2 separate regions of the Homo sapiens genome follow, and region 2 is linked to region 1. Evidence: promoter capture Hi-C in 16 types of primary human blood cells and fetal thymus (Javierre and others, 2016). All regions are on one chromosome and are shown on one strand. Each heading gives the region's core, a stretch centred on a gene start or on the middle of the fragment in contact. The rest is flanking DNA. Distances are from core to core; before and after follow the strand shown. Region 1 holds the start of RNF44 (ring finger protein 44). Region 2 holds the start of TMED9 (transmembrane p24 trafficking protein 9).

The links. Contacts are between HindIII fragments. The CHiCAGO score rates a contact against its expected background, and 5 or more counts as called.
Region 2: a contact is called between the fragment with the promoter of TMED9 here and the fragment with the promoter of RNF44 in region 1, in 1 of 17 cell types (monocytes). The highest score is 6.6, in monocytes.

The regions. Positions count from the first base shown.
Region 1 is chr5:176,532,108-176,538,697 of GRCh38, forward strand. It overlaps RNF44 (ring finger protein 44), which reads right to left and starts at 5,295. Exons shown (of 11, transcript NM_014901.5): 1 at 4,833-5,295; 2 at 259-409; 3 at 1-86. The coding sequence starts at 365. It overlaps LOC124901143 (a long non-coding RNA gene), which reads left to right and starts at 5,822. Exons shown (of 2, transcript XR_007059071.1): 1 at 5,822-6,016. RefSeq lists enhancers at 1,623-1,842, 2,013-2,682, 5,429-5,868, 6,109-6,288 and silencers at 4,789-4,978, 5,059-5,318. The HindIII fragment of the contact is 3,937 bases long and covers 4,349-6,590 here.
Region 2 is chr5:177,586,054-177,593,452 of GRCh38, forward strand. TMED9 (transmembrane p24 trafficking protein 9) reads left to right here and starts at 6,150. Exons shown (of 5, transcript NM_017510.6): 1 at 6,150-6,345; 2 at 6,522-6,622. The coding sequence starts at 6,162. RefSeq lists an enhancer at 7,355-7,399. The HindIII fragment of the contact is 2,414 bases long and covers 5,163-7,399 here.

The sequences.
Region 1 (6,590 bases), core at 4,045-6,544:
GGTGTGGAGGTCGGGACGGCGGCTGCTGGGAGGGTAAGCGCTCATCCCGGGCAGGCGGGCTGGCCAGGGGGCCCTCGAGGCCAGGGCTGCACCACAGAGAGGAGGCCCCGATAGGACTGAGGGGGGCCACTCGTGCACAGAGCAGGGAGAGAAGCCAGGGTGACTCCCCCCATGGGGAGGGAAGGCAGCTCAGGGCCCTGCGCCCCACCCCTGCTGGCCCCCATGCCCCAGCACCAGGACTGGGAGGCTCCTTCCTACCTTCCCCAGAGCTGGCCCGGGGTGCTGCCAGGTCCCGCAGAGAATCGCCGCTGGCCCACGGGGGCGGAGGGTGGCCACCTAGTCACTGCCAGAGCCCATGGTCGCATCGGGGGGGCAGGGGGGTGGAGGGGCTGGGCCGGGACTCACAACCCTAGGAGGCAAGGAGACAAGAAGACTGAGGCACCTGGCCAACATGGTGAAACCTCGTCTCTGCTAAAAATACAAAAACTAGCCAGGCATGGTGGTGGACACCTGTAATCCCAGCTACTTGGGAGGCTGAGGCATGAGAATCGCTTGAACCCGGGAGGCGGAGGTTGCAGTGAGCTGAGCTGAGATCGCACCACTGCACTCTAGTCTGGTGACAGAGCGAGACTCCCGTCTCAAAAAAAAAAAAAAAAAAAGAAAGAAACTGAGGCACAGAGAAGTCCAGGCGCTTGTGCCATGAGGGGTCAGGAGACAGAACCAAACCTCTGCAGTGTGACCCCAGGGACCAATGGTGTTCAGCCGTGCCCCTCCTCCGAGCCCTGGGGTCCAGTGCTGACACGCCAGGACAGCTCAGCCTGCCAGCACCCAGGCCTCACCCTCCTGCTGTGTGAAATGGGACCCAGTCCCCCTCAGTTGCGGAGCTCAGCGAGCTGGCCAGCGTGCTTCCAAGCCAGTGGGTTCCTGGTAGGCTCCTGCTGGGCGGGGTCTCAGGGCACCCTGTCTTGGAAAGGGGCTTAGGGCCAGACCTTTCTCTGCCTTACACCAGGGGCTACAACTTGGCCTCCAGGCGGCAGCTGGGGGTTCCTGAGGAGGGTCCACATCCTCCCTTCCCTCTGGCTGGTTCCAGCAGGGATTCCAAACAGGCCTGGGACCCAGTTCTCCTCTTACTGGTGCCAGGCAAGAGGTTCTAACCCGCTCCTGCCCTCGGGGGCTTCCAGTCCAAAGCAAGACACTATTCTTTCTTTCCTTAACCTGCTCCCACTGTGCCTATCCACGAGTGACTTCATCTACCTTTCAAGGAATGTATAGCTGGCCCATTTTACGGGGGAGGAAACTGAGGCTCAGCAAGAAGAAACTTGCCCAAAGCCCCACCGTAAAGTGTTAAAGCTGGGAGGTGGGCCAAAGAAAGCCTCTCCCTGTGCTCTGCTGCCGACGGAGAGGACCAGCCCCAGGCTTCATGGGAGGTGATGAAGGAAGTCAGCCTGGGGAGACTGTGGAGTCTGGCATGCAGCCAGGCCCTTGCTCTGGGGCCCCCAACCCAGCCCTCAAAGTGGGAGGTGGTGCCTGCTGAGAAAAAAAGGAAGGAAGAACCCGAGAGAGGAAGCTGAATAGGAATGGGTTGGGGCAGGGTCTCCTGCCTCCGGTCAGAGATGAGGGTCCAGGTGGAGGATGTCGAGGGACCTGGCTCAACCTCAGGGTTCCGCTCAACTCAAAGTTGGGACGAGGCCCTGGCAGGAAAAGCTCTAGAACCTGTCAGGCCCTGCAAAGCTGAAGGATGCGTCCAACAGGACCAGATCTTTGTTGTTCCTGCCACAGGGAGGCTCGTTCCATCCCTTCCCCATCTAACAAAACTCCTATGCATCCTTGATACCCAGCTTTCAATGTCACCTCCCTGTTGACACAGCCAGGGAGCCAGTGTAACTGTCAGCTCAACACCTAGTTCCTTCCTGCCAACAGCGGCAAGAACCATTTCCTCTGTGCTGCACTTCACAAGCCTGGGCCCTGCTTCTCAAAAGGAGCCCGCATGGGAGACCGGGGCCCGACCAGCAGAGGGTGTGGGCAGGGCCAGGGACCACCTTGTGTCCAGCTCAGGGCAGGCCTGATGTGAGAAATGTGCACGGAACAGAGCCAATCACACAGGTCCAAGGTCACCCAGTCTGGCAGCAATGCCAACAACTGACAGTTGGGAGATTACAAAACACCTGGCTTCTCATGGCAAGCCTGGTCCCACTTGTTTCTGCCTGGCCCCCTCACTGGGAGCGAGAGCTTTCCCTCCAGGTCACCCAGGCCCAACCTCTGCCTGCCCATCATCGGGGAATGGGTTTGTGACCCCTGGCCTGGGCCAAGTGCACACCCTGACAGGCATGTCTACACACACAGCCTCCCGAACTCCTGCCAACAAACCAGCCAAGCAAACAACGGCCAAGGGAGACTCAGGAAATCCCCAAATAACTGAAACAGCAGATGCCTGGCCCATCCCAGTCCTCCTGGACCAGACACTTTGGAGGGATGGGGAACAAGGGCACCTAGATGTTTAACAAATTCCCCAGAAGTTGTCACAGCACAGCTAGATTTGGGAATCTCTACCCTAGCTAACCTCAGAAAGCTGGGGAGCCCATAGTTCTGCTGGTGCAGAACAGTCACCATAATAACCATGCTGTTTCCCCGGCGCCAACTTGGTGAGTCCTCCCAGCAACACTGGCAGGTCAGGACACCAAGGCTCAGAGAGGTGAGGTCCAAGGCCAGTCAGCTGGAATCGTGAGTGCGCAGGTGCATGACCTAAGCAGTCTGGCCATAAAGCACCCATGACTAGCCACCAAGCCAGCAGCCTTGACTGCTCCTCTTATGTCAGGATGTCTTGCAGATGGCTGAGTAGTGCCAGGCCCAAGGCACTCCTGCAGAGGCCCAGGCCTGTGGGTGTCTGCTCTGTGGCCAGCCCCCTACAAAGGCACCCACTCCCCAGGGCAGGGAAGGTGGTAAGGAGCTGTGAAAGCAAGCCAGGAGACAGAAGGGCCTCCAGCCGTGGGTAAGAATGTCAGCCCTCACAGACTCACACATGACAGTGACTTCTAGCGAGATTCTTGCCTACAGACCGTGGGCAAGGGCTTCCCCTCCCGAGCCTCAGTATCTTCATCTGTAAAATGGGAACAGCCCAATAACTACCTCCCAGTTTCCCATCAAGGACTGCTCCAAGGCAACAGCAGAAGCAACTTGTAAAGTTTGAACTTAGCTTGGGTGTGAATGATCATTATTAGCGAATACGACACGCTGACCTCCATTTCCAACCTCAAGCAGAGCTTGAAGGGTGCCACTTCCGGGGCAGCAGGCAGATATGCCACTCTAGGGGAATACCTCAGCTGGTAAGAGTGGATCCTGGTTCTTTAAGCCCTGCCAGGAACAGGGGTGGCGTAGAAGGGTTACACCCACTTCATGGCTGAGAAAACTGGAGCCGAGAGAAAGGAAGTAAGTTACTCTAGGCCACAAGACCAGAGAGAACGGAATTGGTCCTAGTTGGCCTCCTAGGCCCAAACTCCCCCAAGCCATAACTCCTGTGGCATCAGTAGCTGGAGGAAATCACCTAATCCCGAGTCTCCAAGCCATACAGGAGGCTGGGAGAGCACTCTCTTTCAGGCACCCATCTTTAGCTCTGTAGTACAGAGAAGCAAGCAAGGCCCAGAGTTGGAGCTAGCAACTTGCTCAAGGTCAAATAGCAAGGGTGGCCAGGTGGCCTCCCCTAACAACTGCTCTGCCCGTCCACATCTCCATGCTGTCCTATCACGGAGCTCTGTGTGAACGGGTCTTGAGAGTCCCGTCGCTGAGCCCCGTCCGCCCCAGGCACGCAATGCATTTTGCAGTTAACATAACCCCCCACACCCACCCATGAGAGCCGGCCAACCCCTTAAGTCCAGTGCCCCAAGCACCTACCCTGACCTTGGTCTAAGAGCCCCAGGGATCTGTTTGCAGGAAGAGACACTCCCTTTTGCAGATAAAAACAAAGTCAGACCCTGGGGGCATGAGCAGACTCAGCCAGGAAGAGAAGCCCCCCTTCCTACTTCCCCACACCCCACCCGAAACAAGCAGGCTCTGCCCAGCGCAAGCAGAGCTTCCCAACGTGTGGTGCCTGGAGGCCGCTGAGGGCCGGACCACCAGACTAGGAGAGAAGACTCCCTAGTGACCTTGGTCAAGGAAATCCCTTTGCTTCTGAGCGCCTCAGTTGGCACAGCTATAAAATGGGGGTGGAAATCTTTCCTTCCCACAGCGCCCAAATAAAACCAGAAGAGTCCAGAAGAAACCAGGTGGTCACACTAGTGGGGGAGGAAACCAGGGTCCTGGGGAAGGGGGGGCTCCCCAACGCGGGCCAAGTGCACGCTGTGGGGCTCTGGGAAGCTTACCCAGCCACCCCTCCCCAGGCATAGTGCTGGGGGGCCGAGGCGCGGACACAGCCCCGAGAGGGGCCTCCCTCGTCCGCTTCCTACTCTTTTGCGCCGCTCTCGGAGGGACACCGGGGGCGGGAGGCGAGACTGCAGCGCAGGGGCCAGAACGCTGCGACTTTAAGAGCCGAGGATCCCGGACCATGTGCTCGGCGTGAGACAAAAGCAACAACAAAGGAAGTGGCGGCCGCAGGGGGAGGGGGGCGGCTCCTTCCTCTCCAACCGCAGCGCTCAGCTGCAGGAGAGGGGAGATACGGCCCGGCCACGGGGGGCCTTGGGGGGGGTTCCTGATCCCTGGGGTCTCGCTGCCCGCAGTCTGGACCGCCCGTGATTAACCCCTACGGAGCCACCTAGATCACGGCCCCCATTCCCAGGGGAGGGGAACAGAAGGTCCATGGGTGGGGGAATAGGAAGTTGGGGGCCCTGGCACCGACTCACCTTTGGCCGCCCGGCCACACGTTGACTCCTTTGTTCCCGATCTAGGACGGCCAAACTGGGCAGGGGGCGGGGGAGGGGGGGGGTGCCTGTCTGGATCCTTTAAGAGCTCCCGCCCTGCGGAACAATGTGCTCCCCTCCCCACCCCCGGGTCCGGGGGCAGCCCGGCTCCTTCCGGGGCCTCTCTCTTTGTTGTCCGCCCGACGGCGTCTGCCTCGCGAGGCCCACGCGCGATCAGTCTCTCTCGGCCCAGGCCCTCAGGGAGCGGGAGGCGGCGCAGGACGCAGCTGGGTCTGCGCGGCAGCCGGCGGCTGGCCCTTTAAGAACTGTCCGCGGCGGCAGCGGAATGTAACAAACCCCACATTTGATTCACAACATTCGAAGCGGCGGGGTCGCGCGCCAGACGGGAGGGGGCTCGCGGGGGCGCGCCGGGAGGCTCCGGCAAACAGTAGCCCGCTGCAAGCCCGCAGGGGCCCCGCCCCGCGCCGGGAGCTCCGCCCTGAGAGCCAATCACTCGCCGCGACCACGCACGTGACTAGTGGGCCACCATCTTGAATTTTTTTAACCTCCTCCTCGCCCCCACCTTCGCACTTAAAGGGACCGCAGCCATAGTCAAAAGCAAGGGGCGGGGCCGCATATCCTGACATAAAGATGGGGAGACCCCAGGGTGGGCAAAACCGATCGGCTGCAACTCGAACTTGCTATGCAAACTCGCTAACTACTCGCGCCTCTGAGGCTCAGTTTCCCTGCCGAAGAAATGGGTCCCGCCAGGAGAACCGGCAGTACGGACTTACTGTGTCATGGTCCCCTCCTCGGGGACAGGGTGCCGCCTGAGATACTGAAGTGCAATGGGTCTGACCTCTGACGGGGCGAGAGCGGCCCAAGTGGTTATGCTGGCTCTAACAACCCTGGGCCGGCCACCTTCCCGGAGATGACGTCACCCCCAAGAGCTGCAGCACCGCGCTGACATCATGGCCCGGCCGCCCCACTTCTCCTTGTTTATACTACACGGCGTCTTTAAAAAGCTGGTACGGCCCAGATTGCCCAACAGACCAATGGCGGACCACCCATGCAAACGAGCTAACGTCTGCCGGGCAAGGAGATTGGCCCTGCTCGCGCTGACGTCACAGAGACATTTAACCGCCACGCCCCCAGCGTGGCGGTGGAGGAAGAGAGGCGGGGAACAGGTTGTAGTTTAAAGCAAAAGTGCAGGCGCTGGGCGCTCTAGCTGCTAGGCTGGGCTTGAGAGTTTGGTGTCCCCGCGGAGACCTCCCTAGCCAGGGAAACTGGGAACTAAGCCCAGTGAAGCGTCTATACTTTAGTTTTCTATTCCTCTCAGCAGCTATGAGACGGAGGGATTACTATAGCCAGTTCATTTTACAGATGGGGAAAGTGAGGGCCTTCCCTTACTCCAGATCACACAACTAGAAGTGTGGCGGAGCAGGAGTGTGAACCTAATCCAAAGCCGAGCCTCGTTCTCCTTTGCCTCGAAGCCCACCCACCCGGGCAAAATTTATACAAAATGGGGTATTACCTCCACCACAATTATATAAGCAGAAAATCAGTAATTTGCTAAATATCCAAGAGCTGGAACAGGTCGAATAATGAATATTGGGTGCATGCATATAATCAATAACGACTCTTGGGCAGTTACCACAAAGAGGCAGCTGGAGGCGACACGGGGCTATCTCCAAGACAGCCATAAACAAGGCGCCAATGCAAAATGTTAACATCTGTTAACCTGTGTGGTGGGCCATGGGG
Region 2 (7,399 bases), core at 4,900-7,399, 1.1 Mb after region 1:
ATTCCATAATATATATATGTGTGTATATATATATATATATATATACCAGTTTATTTATTGATGGGCATTTGGGTTGGTTCCACATTTTTGCAATTGTGAATTGTGCTGCTATAAACATGTGTGTGCAAGTATCTTTTTCGTAGAATGACCTCTTTTCCTCTAGGTAGATACCCAGTAGTGGGATTTCTGGATCAAATGGTAGTTCTACTTTTAGTTCTTTAAGGAATCTCCACACTGTCTTCCATACTGGCTGTACTAGTTTACATCCCCACCAGCAGTGTAGAAATGTTCCCTGTTCACTCCATCCACACCAACACCTATTATTTTTTGATTTTTTGATGGTGGCCATCCTTGCAGGAGTAAGGTGGTATTGCATTGTGGTTTTGATTTGCATTTCCCTGATCATTAGTGATGTTGAGCATTTTAAAGAAAGCATGCATGAAAGGGGAAACATTTACATGACCCTAGTGATGACCATTAGGTTTTATCGTGGTCAGCAGCTATGGGGTGTGTTGGGTTTTGAATTAGTGGGATGAGGAATGAGTGAATTATATCAGAGGCAACTACATGGGGACGGGAAGTTTTAACTAGGCCAAAGGTGAAAGGGTATGGCTGGGCTTCAGACAACTTATGCCAGACCCAAAAATAGATGCAGAGACAGCAACTATACACATTTATGGCATCTGGTGTTGGTATTTTCACAAATTGTGTTCAATTTATGAAAATTCACTGAGAGGTAAACATTTAGCTTATGCACTTTTCTGTCTTTTTTTTATGCTTCAGTAAAACATTTACAAAGCAGCTTCCTCTCCCACAATAGCTCCCCAAACCCCTGTTCCTCTTTTATATAAGCAGGCATAGTTACCAATTTCTTACTGATAACCAGATGGCCATTCTTTTTTCATGGCGATATAATATTTAATTATAGAAGTGTGCCATAATTTATTTTATTTTTTTGAGACAGAGTGTCACTCTGTCGCCAAGGCTGGAGTGCAGTGGCATGATCTCAGCTCACTGCAACCTCCGCCTCCCGGGTTCAAGTGATTCTCCTGCCTCAGGCTCCCGAGTAGCTGGGATTACAGGTGTGTGCTATCATGCCTGGCTAATTTTTGTATTTTTAGTAGAAACGGGGCTTTACCATGTTGGCCAGGCTGGTCTCGAACTCCTGACTTCAGGTGATCCATCTACCTTGGCCTCCCAAAGTGTGGGGATTACAGGCGTGAGCCACTGCACCTGGTCCATAATTTCTTTCTTTTAATTTTTATTTATTTATTTATTGAGACAGGTCTCACTGTCACCCAGGCTAGAGTACAGTGGCACAATCACAGCTCACTGCAGCCTTGACCTCCTGGGCTCAAGCAATCCTCCCACTTCAGCCTCCTAAGTAGCTGGGACTACAGGAATGTGCCACCACGCCTGGCTAAGTAGTTGGGACTACAGGTGCGAGCCACAACACCCGGCTAATTTTTGTATTTTTTTGTAGAGACAGGATTTCACCATGTTGCCCAGTCTGGTCGTGAACTCCTGAGCTCAAGCAGCTCTCCTGCTTCAGCCTTCCAAAGTGCTGGGATTACAGGTGTGAGCCACCACACCCGGCCTATTTTTAAAATATCTTATTAGTGGAATAGATATAAATCAAAGTTATTAAAGTAGCTGCATCTGGAAAGGGATGGAGGGAATAAGGATTTAATTTTATTTGTAATAATTTTGTTCTTTAAAACATACCTGATAGTTTAGGACTTCTGCTTCTGAGAAGATGATATAGACATACTTTTCTCCATTCCTCTGGCTAGGTACAACCAAAATCCTAACTAAAAGAGGAGTCTCAAATCAATAATCTAAACTACTTCTGGCCGGGTGCAGTGGCTCATGCCTATAATCTCAGCACTTTGGGAGGCTGAAGAGGGCAGATCACCTGAGGTCAGGGGTTCGAGACCAGCCTGGGCAACATGGTGAAACCCCATCTCTACTAAAAATACAAAAATTAGCAGAGCATGGTGACACATGCCTGTAATCCCAGCTACTTGGGAGGGTGAGGCAGGAGAATCGCTTGAACCTGGGAGGTGGAGGCTGCGATGAGCCGAGATGTTGCTACTGTACTCCATCCTGGGTGACAGAGTGAGACCTTGTCTCAAAAATCAAAACAAAACAAAACAACAAAAAAACCCCACAAACTTCTACTTCAAGTCACTAGAATAAGAAGAACAAACTAAATCCAAAGCAAGCAGAAGAGGAAAAAATAACAAGCAGAAACCAATGAAATTAAAAACAGAAAAGCAACAGAGAAAATCAATGACACAAAAAGCTGATTCTTTGAAAAGACTGATAAAATTGACAAACCTCTTACAAGACTGATACAGAAAAAAGAAGACATAAATCACCAGTATCAGTAATGAAACGGGTGACATCAGTACAGACCCTGCCCACATCAGAAGGATCATAAGAGAATAATTCCACGGACAACTTTACATACATATGTGGGGGTGTGTGCTGCAGACCTCAACTCAACGACAGATGAATAATGTACACTGACACAGATATTCTGCTTGTCAGTCAGGCCGATTGTCCAGGCCCCCTACAGACTCCCAGGAGAGTGCTGTACATTTGCAACGTGGCCCCGACTCCCCGCCTCCTACTCGCTGGCCTTCTCGTCATTTACTTAGCACACATTAAACACAGCAAAAGTCTCAAGTAAACACCATTAGAGGGTAATCAACCTGGTCGCCTTCCCCTGCCTCCCCCAGAGCGCCATCCTGCCCGCGAATGATTAAAGGTTACTTTTAGAACCACATGAGTAAACAAGCTATTTAGATAGACTCCTCTACATTCCTATGTTACTTACCCTTGCTATGGCTCAAAGAGGATTAGGCCGCTTTCAGCCAAACTATCTGAAGCTAAGCAAAAACCTTTTGGCCTTCCAAGTTTTGTGTTTTATTGTATAATTTTCCCCACCATCCTGACTGAACCTCTACATACATAAATGTAACAATTTAGGCAAAATAGATCAATTACTCAAAAAGCACACACTATCACAACTTACTAGTATGAAATAGATACTTTGAATAGCCCTATAGCTATTAAGGAAATTTAATTCATAATTAAAACACTCCCCAAAAGGAAATTTCAAGGCCCAGATGATTACACTGGAGCATTCTACCACACTTTTGTTTTTTTTTTTGAGATGGAGTTTCACTCTTGTTGCCCAGGCTAGAATGCAAAGGTGCCTTCTCAGCTCACCAAACCTCTGCTTCCCAGGTTCAAGTAATTCTCCTGCCTCAGCCTCCCGAGGAGCTGGGATTACAGGCATGTGCCACCACACAGGCTAATTTTGTATTTTTAGTAGAAACAGGGTTTCTCCATGTTGGTGAGGCAGGTCTCGATCTCCTGACCTTGTGATCCTCCCGCCTCGGTCTCCCAAAGTGCTGGGATTACAAGCGTGAGCCACCGTGCCCGGCCAAAGTTGACTGTTTTTAACTGTACACTTCAGTGGGATTAAGTACATTATATTGCCATAGAACTCTCACCACCATCCATCTACAGAACTCTTTTTATCTTGGAAAACTGAAACTCTATACCTATTAAACAATAACTTCACTCTCCCTGTCCTCCAGTCCCTGGCAACCACCATTCTGCTTTCTGTCTCTGTGATTTTGACGACTCTAGTACCTCATATACATGGAATTACCCAGTATTTATCATTTTATGTCTGGCTTAGTCCACTTAGCGTAATGTTTCTTCAAGATTCATCTATGTTGTAGCATGTGTCAGAATTCCCATCCTTTCTAAGGCTGAAAGGATTTCCATTGTGTGGATGTACCATATTTTGCTTATCTATTCATCTACTGATGAAGAACTGGGTTGCTTCCATTTTTTTTTTTGCTTGTGAATAATGCTGCTGTGAACATATGTGTACAAATATCTCTTTGAGACCCTACTTTTAATTATTTTGAGGATATCTCTAGATATGGACTTGCTGAATCATATGGTAATTCTATTTTTATTTATTTATTTTGAGACAGTGTCTTGCTTTGTCACCCAGGCTGGAGTGCAGTGGCATGATCACAGCTCACTGTAGCCTTGACCTCCCAGGCTCAAGCAATCCTCTTGCCTCAGCCTCCTGAGTAGCTGGGACTACAGGCGCATGCCACCAGATCCAGTTAATTTTTGTATTTTTTGTAGAGATGGGGTTTCGTCATGTTGCCCCGACTGGTCTCGAACTCCTGGGCTCAAGCAATCCTCCTGCTTCTGCCTCCCAAAGCGCTGGAATTATAGGCGTAAGCCACCATGCCCAGCCTATTTTCACTTTTTTGAGGAATCATTATACGGTTTTCCACAGTGTCTGTACCATTTTACATTCCCACCAACAGTGCACAAGGGTTCAATTTCCCCACATCCTTGCCAATGCTTGTAGTTTCTTTCTTTTCCTTTTTTTTTTTCTAGTGGCCATCTTAATGGGTATATGACGTAGTATCTCATTGTTCTTTATCTCATTGTGATTTGTGTTTCTCTAATGATTAGTGATGTTGAGTATCTTTTCATGTGCTCACTGGCCACTTGTTGATCACTGGAGAAATGTCTATTCAAGCCCTTTGTTGTGGTTTTTGAATGAGATTGTTCTTATTTTGTTGCTGAGTTTTAGGAGTCTCTGCATATTCTGGATATTAATCCTTTGTCAGATATATGATTTGCAAATATTTTCTTCCATTCTGTGGGTTGCCTCTTTACTCTGCTACAGAGTCTTTTGATGCACAAAATGTTTTAATTTTCATAAAGTCCAATTTGTCTATTTTTTCTTTTGTTGCCTGTGCCTTTAGTGTCATATCCAGGAAGTCTGTTGCCAAATCCGATGTGGTAAACCCTTTGCCATATGTTTTCTATGAGTTTTATGCTTTGGGATTTTAAAAGTTGTGGGTCTTTTTGGGTGAATTTTTATCTATGGTGTTAGAGAAGGAACCACCTTCACTTTTTTGCATGTGGATATCCAGTTTTCCCAGCACCATTTGTTAGAAAGACTGTCCCTCCTCCCCGCATTGAATGGGCTTGGTCTCCTTGTTAAAAATTATTTGACCATATATGGGAGGGCATATCTTGGGGCTCTCTATTGTATTCCATTGGTCTATATGTCTGTCTATATGCCAGTACCACACTGTCTTGATGACTGAAGCTTGGAAGTAAGTTTTGAAATCAGGAAGTGTGAGTTCTTCAGCTTTATTCTTATTTTTCAGGATTGTTTTGGCTAATCGAAATCCCTTGAGAGTATATGAATTGTAGAATGAGTTTCTCTGTTTCTACAAAAAATGTCATTGGGATTTTGACAGGAATTGCATTAAATCTGTAGATTGCTTTGGATAGTATTGACATCTTAACTATATTAAGTAAGGATGATTTTTTTTAAATTACTGATTCAATCTCCTCACTAGTTATAGGTTTATTCAGATTATATTATCTATTCTGAGTCAGTTTTGCATTTCTATGAATTTGTCCATTTCATCTACGTTATCCAATTTGTTGGCTTATATTTGCTCATAGTACTCTCTTATGATCCTTTCTATTTCTGTAGAATTGCTAGTAACGAGCCATTGCAGTTGGGATCTGGCAGCAGAGGCTGTGTGTGTGTTTGTGTGTGTGTGTGATCGGAGAAATGCTTGAGAGGGTAACACCCGATTTAGGAGTGGACAGGGTATGAGGACAAAGAAGTGGTAATGGGAGACCTTGCCTTTTATTTCTTTTAATCTTTTTTGATAATACATTTGTGCATTATTTGGTCGTTCTCTTTAAATTCATTTTTAAAGGTAGAAGCAAATCAAGACTGGTAGATGCTGTGCCAAGGAAAGTCAGGGATCCTAGGTTCGAATCCTGTCTCTGTTCGCAATTCGCTCCGCAACCTCAAACAAACGACCTCAGTTTCATCTATGAAAAGCTGGTAACCATCGTCAGTTGCCAGGCCATGAAGAGAGTCAACGGAAATAAGTTTTTATTCTAGGGCACCCGCTCTCTCTCAGGTAAAAGCCGCGCCCCAATCAGGTACTGCCGCGCCAGGGCCGCGGGACATCTCGGGATTTGTGGTCCACCCGGCGGAACTCGCGGTCCCGGCAGGCACCGCGGCGGCGGCAGGGCGACGTGGCGCGGCCGGCTGCGGCTGCGCAGGCAGGTGGAGCAAGATGGCTGTGGAGCTGGGCGTGCTGCTCGTCCGGCCCCGGCCCGGAACCGGGCTGGGTAGAGTGATGCGGACCCTCCTGCTGGTGCTGTGGCTGGCGACGCGCGGAAGCGCGCTCTACTTTCACATCGGAGAGACGGAGAAGAAGTGCTTTATTGAGGAGATCCCGGACGAGACCATGGTCATAGGTGCGGGGGCGGGGAGGAAGGGGCGAGTTTGGAACGTGACCGTGGTCTTGGGGCGGGGGATGCGAGACAGTCAGCTCTCTAGAGCCGGGAGGAGACGGCCTCGCCGTGCCCAGGCGGTCGCGGAACCCATGCCACCTCGCGCTCCTCTGACCTGGGCTCGCCCTGCTTCCCTCAAGGAAACTACCGGACGCAGCTGTATGACAAGCAGCGGGAGGAGTACCAGCCGGCCACCCCGGGGCTTGGCATGTTTGTGGAGGTGAAGGACCCAGAGGACAAGGTGAGCCAACCGCCCCCCTCCTCTCCGCCAGCCTCTCAGCTAGGCGGGCTCCGGTACTTCCTCTTCTAGTTCCTGCATCTGCTAAAGTGGGAGAGACAGTTGATGTTGTGGGAATATCCTGCTGACTTGCAGACCCCGCCCGGTCTGTGAAATGGGCGGATTAATTGTGGTGATAAAAATCAAAGAGTTTTGTCAACTCTTAAAGTCATCTAGACTTTAAGATTTCACAGAACATGATACTTTCCCCACAAAATGAGCAGCTTTTAATCTTCCCAAGTAAGGATATTAAAACGAACGGCAAAACCCTTCAGCTCTCACCTTCTGTCACTTTTCGTTAAAAAACTCATGGCGGGGTGTGGTGGCTCTTGCCTGTAATCCCAGCACTTTGGGATGCCGAGGCGGGTGGATCACTTGAGGCCGGGAGTTCAGGACCGGCCTGGGCAACCTCCGTCTGGCAAACCCCGTCTCTAGTAAAAATACAAAAAAAAAAAAAAAAAAAAATGAGCCGGGTGTGGTGGCGCACACCTCTAATACCAGATACTTGGGAGGCTAAGGCACGATAATTGCTTGAACCTGGGAAGCTGAGGCTGCAGTGAGCTGAGATAGCATCACTGCACTCCAGCCAGGACGACAGAGTGAGACTCTGTCTCAAAAACAAAAACAAAAAAGAACCCCCCAAAAAACAACTCACACCAAAAAAGTTGAAAGGGCATAAGCTATAAAGGAAAGCCCTTCCCAAGAGCAGTCAGTCACTTGCCACCCTAATGTCAGACTCTC